Linked DNA regions of Homo sapiens: all the other regions are linked to region 1. Evidence: promoter capture Hi-C in 16 types of primary human blood cells and fetal thymus (Javierre and others, 2016). All regions are on one chromosome and are shown on one strand. Each heading gives the region's core, a stretch centred on a gene start or on the middle of the fragment in contact. The rest is flanking DNA. Distances are from core to core; before and after follow the strand shown. Region 1 holds the start of PRDM13 (PR/SET domain 13). Region 2 has its middle 4.2 kb from the start of NR2E1. Region 3 has its middle 7.8 kb from the start of LIN28B.

Evidence for each region. Contacts are between HindIII fragments. The CHiCAGO score rates a contact against its expected background, and 5 or more counts as called.
Region 2: a fragment that was not itself captured here is called in contact with the fragment with the promoter of PRDM13 in region 1 in 1 of 17 cell types (total B cells); the score reaches 8.4 in total B cells.
Region 3: a contact is called between a fragment that was not itself captured here and the fragment with the promoter of PRDM13 in region 1, in 1 of 17 cell types (total B cells). The highest score is 5.5, in total B cells.

Annotation. Positions count from the first base shown.
Region 1 is chr6:99,605,583-99,609,519 of GRCh38, reverse strand. PRDM13 (PR/SET domain 13) reads right to left here and starts at 2,687. Exons shown (of 4, transcript NM_021620.4): 1 at 2,342-2,687; 2 at 648-779; 3 at 213-333. The coding sequence starts at 2,485. The HindIII fragment of the contact is 6,161 bases long and covers 1,296-3,937 here.
Region 2 is chr6:108,159,842-108,163,778 of GRCh38, reverse strand. No RefSeq gene overlaps it. Among named protein-coding and RNA genes, the nearest start is that of NR2E1, 4.2 kb to the left of the region's middle. RefSeq lists enhancers at 1-517, 3,443-3,937. The HindIII fragment of the contact is 939 bases long and covers 1,345-2,283 here.
Region 3 is chr6:104,947,366-104,951,302 of GRCh38, reverse strand. It overlaps a transcript of LIN28B not described here. Among named protein-coding and RNA genes, the nearest start is that of LIN28B, 7.8 kb to the left of the region's middle. The HindIII fragment of the contact is 6,126 bases long and covers 1-3,937 here.

The DNA.
Region 1 (3,937 bases), core at 1,438-3,937:
TTTTCCCCTGCCATTGTGAGCCAGATTGCTACTATCACTGTTATCGTTTATGGTTGATTTTAAGGAGGTAGTGGCGACCTCTCTCCTCTTTGCCTTGAAATACAGGGAATGTGAATTCCATTTTACATAGATCGAGCTATGTCTAGGGACTCGCTTCAAGACAGGAGGAGGAGGGCTGGACTTTTGCCCATCCACGCTTTTGGAATGGGTACCTTTCTCGTCGTGAGTCGGAGTCGCTGTGGTGGGGATGTCGAACCACTGAGCCAAGGAGTTAGAATACCACACTGTCAGCTCCTCCCCTGGCTGGACGTCTCGCAATGCTCGGTAGAAGATCTGGGACGCAAGGAATAGAACAGTTCAATGTCATTTCCTGGGTAATCGGTCAAAAAGCAACTGAGAAGAAAGGTTCAAATCCGGATTCTGATGCTGTGTGACCCTGGAGAAGCTACTGGAGCTCTCTGAACCTCACTTCCGTCATCCTTCAAACGGAAAAACAATAGTAACTACCTTAAAGGGTTGTCGAGACGTTTAAATGAGACGTCTAGCTAAAGTACTTTGCTCTTAATATTTTTGGCCACCGCAGGGACGGTTAGGTAGACTGAATTGGCGGTGGGGAGTGGGGGGGTGTGGAGAGAAGCCCGCAGTACCTGTCCTCCGGGTAAGTCTGCAATAGCTTCCAGAGTCTGTTCCTGGGAGTTTCTGGCTGCCCGGATTAACCCTATCCACTCCAGAGGGGAGCCCCCCGACTCGTCCACCAGCTCCCCTCTCACCATGCGCACCTGCAACACAAGCAGTGGTCGTTCTCCCCCGCACCTTGGCCAGGCCCACAACCCAAACAGAAAGTTTATCCTCCACCCCAACCCAACACAGGAAAGTGGTTGTTTTTGGTTTGGCCAGACCACTATGGGCTACTGGGAGGAGGAGAATTCCTTAGGACCTTGCTTCGGGGAGGGAGAAAGAGGAAAGTCTACCTATGCTAACAGTACTCCCACTTCCCTGCGCCCCACCTTGACGACACGGGGAGGGGAGAGGGGTGTTGAGAGCATCCTCCCTGAGTGCTTAGGCACATCTTGTACCAAGTTGTCCCCTACCCCAGCTCTCCCATTTGCAGTTCTGAGAGCAGCCGTAACACCACGGTAGAGACATTTCTAGGTCAGTCCCAGGGCCCAGAGCGTACCCCCGACAAACAAACAAAAAAATTATCTCATGCCTCCTGTATTCTGTGTGCATCGCACCTAGTTGCCTGTGAGCCCTGCAGCTAAAGTCTCGGAACAAAGCCCAAGCGGGGAAAAGCTTGCCCGCAGCTGGCAGGCCATTTAAAAGCAATTAAAACGCGTTTAAAGAGGAATGCGCGGTGGGCACCAAACCCCGCTTTAGACTGTAGTGGGGGGCGTGATTGCAGGAGGAGCGAGGTGCAAGTCCCGCTGGCTGGACACCGGAGCTTTTTACTAGAAAGCTCCAAGCAAGGCAAGCTAAAGCCAAGGAAGCCAAAGTCCTTTCTTCTACCCCAGACTTCTGCCTTCATTTCCCGGTCGCTGTTTGCCGACCTTTGGCTCCTGGGACGCCCCCAAAGCGGGCGAGTGCTATAAGTCTCTCTGGTCAGGGGTCGCGACGGTGTGTGGAGTGTGGGAGTCAAAGCTAGTGGTTTGGCCCTGGCGCCTCCCGGTTGGGCCTCTGGACTCTCAGAGCCCCGCTGCAGACGCTCTGACCCTGTGCCCCGCGCGAATGGGCGCGCCTCGCCCTTGGAGCCCGCGTCAGAGCCAGTACCTTGCTCATCCTCTCTCCATATGCCGCATACCCACAAGCCGACATCGGCAAGGGAAAAAAAAATATCTGAGGAGGTTCTAGGAACTGAGAGCCTCCCAAAGATTTTTTTTTTCAGGAAAAAAAATTACTTTAAGGCGAAATTAGGCCTCAAATTAACATATTGAAGGGCAGAAGGGAAGAAAGGGTCTCGATGCCCTGAGCCCCCAGAAAGAGGGTGCTTTTGCAGAGAGAGCTGCGGACAGCGTGCGGGGGTGGGCTTCTGGCTTCTGACTGAGGAGACCCGAGAGCGCAGGGGAAAACACAAGCTGCGAATGGTCCCGGCACCTACAGCGCTCAGTGCACCCCACCCAGGGCTGTCGCCTCTCGGCCACATCCTCTCCTCTCAGCCCGACCCCGTCCAGCTCTCACAGTTAAAGAGGCTACTTGCTCAGAATAATAGGAGTCCCCTTCCACCCGGCAGAATTAGCAGGTAACGACTCAATCACTCCCTTCCTCCACTTTCTCTCGTACCCCTTTCCCGGGTCAGGGCACTGAGAGGCGAATGGCAGTGGGCAGAGGTCTGAATGGTCAATACCTTTTTCTTAGGCCCGGGCTCCCTGCGGTCTGACAGGTACTTGCCCAGCTTGAAGGTACCAGGCACCGGTCCGAGGCGCAAGCCGGCCGGGATGCAGCAGTCGGCACTCACGCTGGTGGCTGGCGCTCTGGCGGCTCCGTGCATTGTTGCCGCCGCCACCAGGCAGGCGCTCGGGTGCTCCAGGTCCTTGGAAGGGCGCGAGTGACAGAGCTGGAGCTGCGCGCTAGCCAGAGAGCCGCGCCCCGACGTGCGTCCTCCGCCCGCGGAGTGACGCGGGCGGGCATGCACTGCGCCTTTTCAATCGGGGCGGGAGCCTTTTGGCACCGCTAGCGCAAGGGCGCGGAGTTTGGTGAGAGAGTTGCGCTGCGAAGCAGCTGCAGAGTCCCACCCGAGAGGGTCACATGGAGTGGTTCCCTCAGCCCCCTGCATAATCGAGGCCGCTGAATGGCTAGCACACAATGGTCCAGGCGACCTTCCCATTCCTAAAAATCCAATTTGTCAAGGGCGAAGAAAAGGCACTGGTGAATCAAAGGTCCGGCGGGACCATTAATCCTCAGCATGGGGTATTGTCCTCCAGACAGTTACGATATTTTAAGTGACAAATCCACTGTATAATTTCTCCATAAATTTTACTTCCTTTTATTGTTCCCCGACAAACCAGTTTTGGGAAATAAGTGACTACTTTAAGTCTACTTGGCTGATTCCTTTGAGCCTTGATCTACTTCAAAGATTTTTAATTCTCTCCCCTTGGCTTTATTGTAAAGGAGATTAAACAAAGAGATGGAGACTGTTTGGAGGACTTGTTAACTACTATTGATTTCTGGCGTGTGCCATACAGAAATTAGGCAGGTACTTGATGGGAAAACACCAGAAAATACCTACACTTTTTAAATAACAACCATATTACCATTTCAGGGGATTGGGTTCAGGCCAGTCGTCTATTCAGAACCGCTTTAATTCTCACTTCTGTCCCATTTCGTCCGAAAATATGATGAAGCCTCCAGACCAAGTTGAGAAGGGGAGGTCAACTGCTCATCACTTTTCTCGGGCACACCCCGGGCCTGCACTTTCTCTGGAGAATGGGAAACAGCCCCAGAACCAACAGTTTCGAATGGGGATCCTGCGCCCCGGTCCGCAGCCCAGGGTTGAAGAGGAAGAAGTTCTACCAGTGGGTTATTGATCACGTCCCCTAGAAGATGTCCTTGGACTAACTTCCCTAAAACCAGCAACCTGGACTTTTCTATTAAAAAAAAAACAGTAAACAAAAACGAAAATCACCGCAATCTGTTAAAGGTTGTAGAGAAGAGGGGCGAGGTGGGCGTTTGGGACAACTCTTTCTTACACCTACTTTGTGAACTAACAAGACGTTGTACTTCAGAGTTAAACCGGAGAGCTACCCGTTTTCTTTTAGGGAAGCCTCCAATTGGCGTGAGAACATTTATTTTCATAAATAGTAGCCAAGTAATCAAGTTCATCAGATATTTGTGATTTCTGCCGGCACCTGCCGCGTGCTGCTAGTTCTGAGCACAGCTCCCCAAATCCTATGCAGCCAGCACCGGAGCCCGATGCAGTTCTTCCAAGAGAGGCCTGAGTGGT
Region 2 (3,937 bases), core at 565-3,064, 8.6 Mb before region 1:
TCAGTGGTAACGGCGGCAACAAGCTCCAGGGTAGGCGGGAGGGGCTGAGGCCCCGTCGCCCACCAGGTCCCAAATAAGCCTGGAGCCTTAGTGCGGGCTGCCTTCTACTCAGGCAAAGCTGCTGCAGGCCACGGGGGACCTCGGATTTAAGGCGTAGAAACTTGGGGCTACCATGGGTACAGCTCAGAGAAGAAAGCCTTTGCAGGACAAAGACTATGGCTCTTCATCTTTCTATCCACAGGCCCCAGCATGCTGCCTGATTCATAGTAGGTGCTGCATAAATGTTGGGCAAATGAAGGGAAGTCACCTGCAGATGCCCTGAGGGGCCACTGGAGGCACAGCCAGGCTAAACGCTGGAAACCACGAGATAGGGATTCAGGGCTGTGCCAACAAGCTGTGTGACCTTAGGCGAGTGGCTAGACCTCTCTGGGTTCCAGATTGTTATTTGTAAAAGGATTCTCACCCTGTTCGGTCTTAACTTTCAAAGATTTTTTCCTGTGAGTCCATTAAAGGAAATGATTGATAAGGGGCAAATGCCATCTGGCTCAGAATTATCTTTTAACAGAGACAAGACCTTAAGTTACAAGGATAAGTTTATTGCTTTGGAAGGTGGTGGGGATAGCCACACCCTCAGAGGTTCTGAAACCCTTCTAAACAGGTTCAGACATAGCCCCTAATTTCCTCTGTAGGCGCTTGTGAGTATGGAGCTCTCAACCAAAACCAAAGCCTAAAACGCAGGGAAGGTTCTTTTATCGAAGGATGTTTACATTTTGGTCCAAGAGATAGGAAATAAGATCATGAGAGGACCATGGATCAAGGGGTATTTCTGCCCATCCATCAATCTACCCACTCATCAAATACTGAGCACCCACTATATGCCAGACCCTGGGGATATAGCAGATTAATGACATGACTCCTTTCTCCATGTAGCAGGGAGCAGACACATAAAAGATGATAAATGTTTTAGATTGGGATGAAACACAGGACACTGGAGATATATACAAGGAGCCCTAAACCAGTGTGCGGTGACATAGGCTGTCCAGAATTGCCCTGGAAAGCTGGCCTTGTGTTAGGAGAATCTACTGATTCTACAGTCCTCTGAGGACTGTATTGTATTATAGCTCATTCCTCTGCTAGTGCCCTGTTAAAGAGAATCCTATTAACTAGGTTGTATGAGAGAGGCAGGGGTACAGAGCACCCCTCAAAGTTTCAGACTATCTGAGGTTGACTGCTAGCCCTGCCATTCACTAGCTTCTCTAAAAACGGTGACATTTTTTCCATTAACACCCCCTCCACACACACACATTCTTCTAAATTAAAATACCGAAGGTGAAAGGACAAGCTTTCCCATCAGCTAGCAGAGCTGATGGAATTGGTGTTAAAGAGACCCCTTCCCCAATCCCCTGTGATCGACCCCTCACAGAGGCCATTCAACCTCTAGAGAGTCACTCCTTTAAAATACCATTCCCCTTACCGATATGCAGAGTTAAGAGATGCTCAGACCAAGGAAATCGCTGGGAAAACCTACCAGCTGAGCTTGGCTGAGTTTTGATGTTTAGTATCCAAAAACATTCTGACACAAGTTTTTGTTTGTTTGTTTGTTTGTTTGTTTATATGAAGGAGGAAGTTGATTTGCATTTGCTTCCACATCATAATTCAACCTATGGCTGTTGTTTGCCCAGTGGATGGTGAGAGAGGAGGTGGGTCATGGAGCAGTGTCTGGCACATAGTAGGTGCTTGCTAAGTGCCAAATGAAAGAAACAGTGTTTGCAGGCTTGCTCTTGATTCTGCTGTGGATCTCTCTACAAGTTGTTTGATTCTTATCCAAATTTACCCCCCAAATAAACAAGAACAATCCAGAAAAGAGACGCTTGTTCTCTAGAATCCAGTGGGTCCTGAGTTGCAGGGTTTTTCTTGACACTTTTGAGCACTGTATTGCCAAAAGTAGTCTGTTACTCCCCACAAGTAGGAAGATGAACGCTGCTAACAACAAGGAGACAATGCTCTGTGTGACCACCCCCCTCACCCCACAACCTTAACAAATAACAAGTCATGTCTTTGCATTTATTCACACCCTTGGTTGGACAAAAATTCAGTTCTAAAGTCAGGCTGAGACTCCGAGGCTTCTAGAGTCCCGCTGCATCTTGACATTCTCTGGCTCCAAGAATAATCAAGTAGAAACATCTTTCTAGTCCCTTGCACCCTGGCACATAGTGGTGCTTTGTAAATGTGGAATGTATGAGTGAACCTGCCTGATGATACTCAATGAAAGCTACTGAAGCTTGAGGTGAAGGGCTCATTTTTGCTCAGCCCCAGCAATGGGGTAGGAAGGGAACAGGGACAGGTCCTCTGAATCTCCAAACCTTGGGAAGCAGTGCAGGTCATTTTTGGCTTTCTGAAAACAAAAGAATGACTAGAGAAACAAGAAAGCAGAACACAGACTACATCCAGGGAGATACTGGCTGCCAAGCTTTCTTCAGCCTCCTAATTTCCTGTGAATTACACAGTCTAACTTGGCTTCCATTTAGCGTGGAATCACAGAGCACATAAGTTACAAGGCACTCCTCTAATGTAGTCATTTTATAGATGAGGAAAGTGAGAACCTTAGAGACAACTTGTCCTTGCTTACTCACTGAGAGACAGAGATCATCCCCAGAACCCATATCTCCTGATGCTGAGTCCAGTGCTCTTTGAAATACTCATTCCACTGCATTCTACTGCATCCAGCTACCTCTCATTTCCCAGAAGGGCTTCTAGAAGCTCCAATTAAAGCAATTTCACTTACTTACTAGTGAAGTAATTAGAATTAAGAACAGTGTTTTGTGCATCTTGAAACTATAGTTCAGTATTTGTGCAACGTCAGCCTCCTTTACTTCACAGGGTTTTTTTCTAAATTCCCTTTCTGCCAGTACTTAAAATTTGCTGTGTTCCAAGGTATAGGAAACCTGTGAGGTGTCCTCTCTGTTTTATAGAAGGGATGATATGACCTACAGGAGCAATACTTAGAGACACAAATCATAGATGCTGAGAAAAAGGCAATGATTAGATTGACCAATTAATCGCTGAATTTGATCTGCCTGGATTGCCAATCTAGGCCTTTCAGATTTTAAAAACGTCCCTGTCTTCCCTTCACAGCAGCTTTAGGACCTACTTTATCCAGATTACTGTTTCAACACTTGTAGAAACAATTGTTATGTAAAACCAGGTACTCCAGTTTGAATGTGGCCAATATATTTCAGAATAAGCTACAATTCTTTATTATGTGGATGAGTATATCAGGACCACATATTTGATCTCTGCCAATGAAGTGAAAAGCATCATACATTCTACTATGCTTTGTTTCCAACAGATCTAGTTCACACAGTACTCTGTTGTCCTATTCTAGTAAGTAATTTCAGAATTCACATCACTTACAAAGATGCCGAGTGGCTATTTAGGGAACTCTGATTCAAAAAAAAAAAAAAAAAACCCTCCAAAACAAAACAAACCTCCCTCTCTCTTCTCCCTCCCCCAAACCCCACGTGCTTTGTGCAAGACGGAGTCAACCAGTGGGATTCACAGGAGGTCCCCAAGTCAAATGCTGCAGCTGCGTTTTAAAAAAGGGTTGGATAAACTACAGCCGTTAATAACATCTGTATCTATGCAAGCTAAGATGATGATAGGGGTAATCAGATCTCATGCTTCAGGGCATAAGATGATTGCCTGCTGGGAGGAGGAGGATTTGGCCTTTCAGGTACAGGAGTTCACAACTGAGGAGGTAGGTTGCAGACATTTCTCCTTAGCCTCTAAAATTTCAGGTGTAACTGTTGGGATAGGTGAAACAGTGATTTGAAATCTAACATTTCTATCAGATCAGGACATTAAATAATGAGATATTTGAAACACCAACATGCACTACATACAACATATGTGTATCTATCTAGGATATAAGTATTTT
Region 3 (3,937 bases), core at 799-3,298, 5.3 Mb before region 1:
GTTTAATAACAGAATAACATCATTTTACTTGTAGTTATTATTAATATTCATATACTTTGCAATATCACAGCTCCTATGTGTGCCTTCAAAGTGGTATGGTCAAGCCAGAGTAATAAATTATCATCAAATAAGATTGTTACTAAAAAATGGTGCTATAACTTTTAAGTTAATTTTAATAATATAAGAAAGCATGTCAAAAGTCTGGGTTTAAAATATTAAAGTTCAAATGACTCAGCTTTGTCATATGAAAACGAGGAGCAAATTCTGATATATGTTTATGAAAAGCAACACAGAGCTTCCTAGATAAGAAAAATTTCCTCAAAATGTCTAATATATTGTGCTATTTCTGTTATGATAAATTATTTTAAAACAGCACCATGTCTCCATTTTTAATTTAGTTCAGCAGATATTCGTTAGTGCATATTTTACTTTGGGAGTTACAAAAATGAACAAACCATGAATACTTTTCATTCATCTCCATAAGCATTTAAATATCTGTTATCTATGCTGCTTGAGTTACAGAAAAAGGAATCACAAAATACAATACTGCTAAAAGTGGGGGTGGGGGGAAAGGGGTTAATTAGAAGAGGTTGTCCACGTAATTCTTATGGGAACACCAGTTTTTTAGATGGAGTGATCAGGACGAAGTATAGGAGGACTTGGTACCTGTCTTGCCAAAGTAGAAAGGATGGAGAATTCCTGAGGGCTGTCAGGTTCTCATATGCCTCTAGCGATCTTGATCTTTTAAAACATTAATTAAACAAAATATTTAAAAAAAAAAAAAAAGACTAACCTGGGGCTGATGAAACCTGGTTGAATGACCTCATCCTCTTCTGAAGAACCTAAAATCAGAGAGCTCAAGTCAGTACTACATTAATTGCCTATTTAATTGCCTCTTCTTCATCCTAATGGCCATTAGAAAGCAATAAAATGCCCAGGTTTTGACTCTGTGAAGAGACCTGTAAACTTTTTTTTACAGTTTAAGACTCACCTAGCAAAATTAGATAACCAATTGGCATATACTTGCCTTTTATATCTAGTAGAGGACACTAGTTTAAAGAACATTTACAACATTTAAGACCATTAAGATGCAGTCAAAAGATCCCAATATCACGAACAATGCAGTTTAAATTTTAATATTTAATTTTACACTGTAATTTTAAAATACTAGTATTTTTTCCAAGCACAGTTAAAATCTACTTAACCTAGAATATCATGTTTCTTGAAGAACTAACTTCTTTGACTATTCTCTTCAGATATATTTCAGAAGATAAATCATGAGAATCTAACGATGGTACTATAAAATAGATATTGGGGCTGTTGCAGTCAAGTGAATGAAAAATTACATTAATGGTAATACATTTAATCATTAAGTATATTTTTAAATATCTAATATGCATTTTAACTTATATTTTTAAATGGGTTAATGTTTTTTAAAAAGCAAACAGTTCTCATTTTTTAAATATGAGTAAATATTGATGTTTCTAATACATCCATTGGCAGATGCCACAACACAATAAAACTTGCAATAAAGAGGCCACACAGTAATCAAGTATAGTGATTGGAAGAGGAACTCCTGGTGACTACTAAATTATTGTTTTTATCCTTGGGTCAGTTATTAAGGTTTGCAAAACAGATTGGTGTGAACATGCATGCACTCACCTGCTACACCCAGAGTTGTCTTTCCTTAACTAAGTTTTACACACTAGACCTACTATATCAACTCACAAAAAATAAGTAAAACCATTCTGTGCAAATTATTTAAGTTGCAATCTAATTTTCTTCTCAAAAGGAAATGGAGACTTTTCCAAGTGCAGGGTTCTACTGAATGTTGACCCAAGGTTCTTTTTACAAAGGATGACAATCCCACCGAGTTAGATTTGAAAAGAATAGAGGAAGAATGTGAACAAAAGGCACGTGAACCTCTGTACATTAAATCCTTCACTTAGCCTGTGTTTACAACCAAAAGACACAAGATAATGACAGATCCTAACTTTAACAAAATTCATTACAGACACTTAATGAAACAGAGCTTTCCTTTACATTGATCCTGTATCAAGTTTTATTTTGCACATCTGGCTTATGTGTGAGTATATTTAATTATTGTACATAAATATTTCAGCACAACTGTAGCTTCTGCCTTTCTATTCTAATAGTCCACAGCCTATTCTTAATCCTATCTGCTTATATTTAGAGAAGAATTCAAGCCAACATATTTTAAAGATGTGTAAATACAATAGATAGGGTTTGTTAAAAAAAAAAAAACTTTGCAAATAATTTGGACAAACTATCACAAATAGGTTTAATAAAGCCAAAATCAAATAATGTAAGAAAGTTAGCTAAATAATGCTATTTAATTCAAGAGCTCTAACTATTAGCTTTTGGAGTTTTTTTTAAAAAGCCAATTTGACTGACAATAACATTCAGATTTTTCACTATTCAAACTTACATATGATGTCCTTGGTTATACTAGTTTTAACAGTAATGTCCGCTTCAAAGGAAAAGTAACATGAAATTATTTCACAATTAATGTTTTTCACTAATATTAATGGTTTAAAATTGTTCAAAAACAAGAGTAGAAAAAATAGCATTGTTTAAATGTAGATATTATCATGTATCCATCCAATATTGACTGAACAACTATAATAGGAATGAGACAGGTATAAGCTGTAAAATATTTATAATTTTAAATGTTCATATTCTTATTCTAGGTGACTGTTTTTTGAAATGAAATATCAGGAGTTAAAATAATTCTTCAAATGCATGAATACTCCAAAAACAGCCACTGACATTTTATACATGAGTATTTATATGTAATAATTTTTTTTCTTTTTTTAGACGGAGTTTTGCTCTTGTTGCCCAGGCCGGAGTGCAATGGTGCAATCTAGGCTCACTGCAACCTCTGCCTCCTGGGTTTAAGCGATTCTCCTGCCTCGGCCTCCCGAGTAGCTGGGATTACAGGCATGTGCGACCATGCCTGGCTAATTTTTCTATTTTTAGTAGAGATGGGGTTTCACTATGTTGGCCAGGCTGGCCTCGAACTCCTGACCTTGTGATCCACCCGCCTCGGCCTCCCAAAGTGCTGGGATTACAGGCATGAGCCACCGTGCCAGGCCTTGTATTTAATACATTTTGTTAAAATATTTTATTTAACAGAGTTCATTACGTTTTCTTAGAAAACAAAAACCTAAACCTATGAAATCCCAAAATACACTTCTTTGCCCCTACACGAGAATAATCTCCATTCATCATTTAGATCTCTACTTAGAGCTCTTTTTCATACTGTTCCATACTGAATACAATGTCTCTACCATGTAATAGTGTACTGTGGTTTATTATAACAGTCCATGAAAATGTTCTCTCTCCCAACTGAACTCTATGCTCTGTGATTAGAGAGACTGTGTATATTTAGCTCATTATTATAATTCTGGCATTATTTTGTATTCATTATATTTTTTGAACCAATGACAACGAATTCCTGTACCGAGGTTGATTATTCCTAGGTTGGCTTTTATAAAAAAAAAAAAAAAAAGTACGCAAAATGTTTTGTTAAACCATCTTTTCATAAAAAATAATTGGATAGGCAATTAATCTCTTATAAATATAAAATACATATATTACAAATATAAAATACATATATACAAAATAATTCCAATTATTTTAATTTAAATATATGATTTACTGCTATAGGAGTGCCTAACTTATAAAGAGTATCCATCACAAACATTCTTAGATTTCACACTTTCTACTAAAATATATAACAATATTCTTCACAAATACATTATATATTGTTCATTGTTAAAATCCACTGTTGTAACTAAATGTAAAGGAAAATGACTGCTATTATGAATTATATATTGTAATTCACTCAAAAATTGCCAGCTGGTGTGGTGGCTCATGCCTGTAATCCCAGCACTTTGGGAGGCCAAGGCAGGTG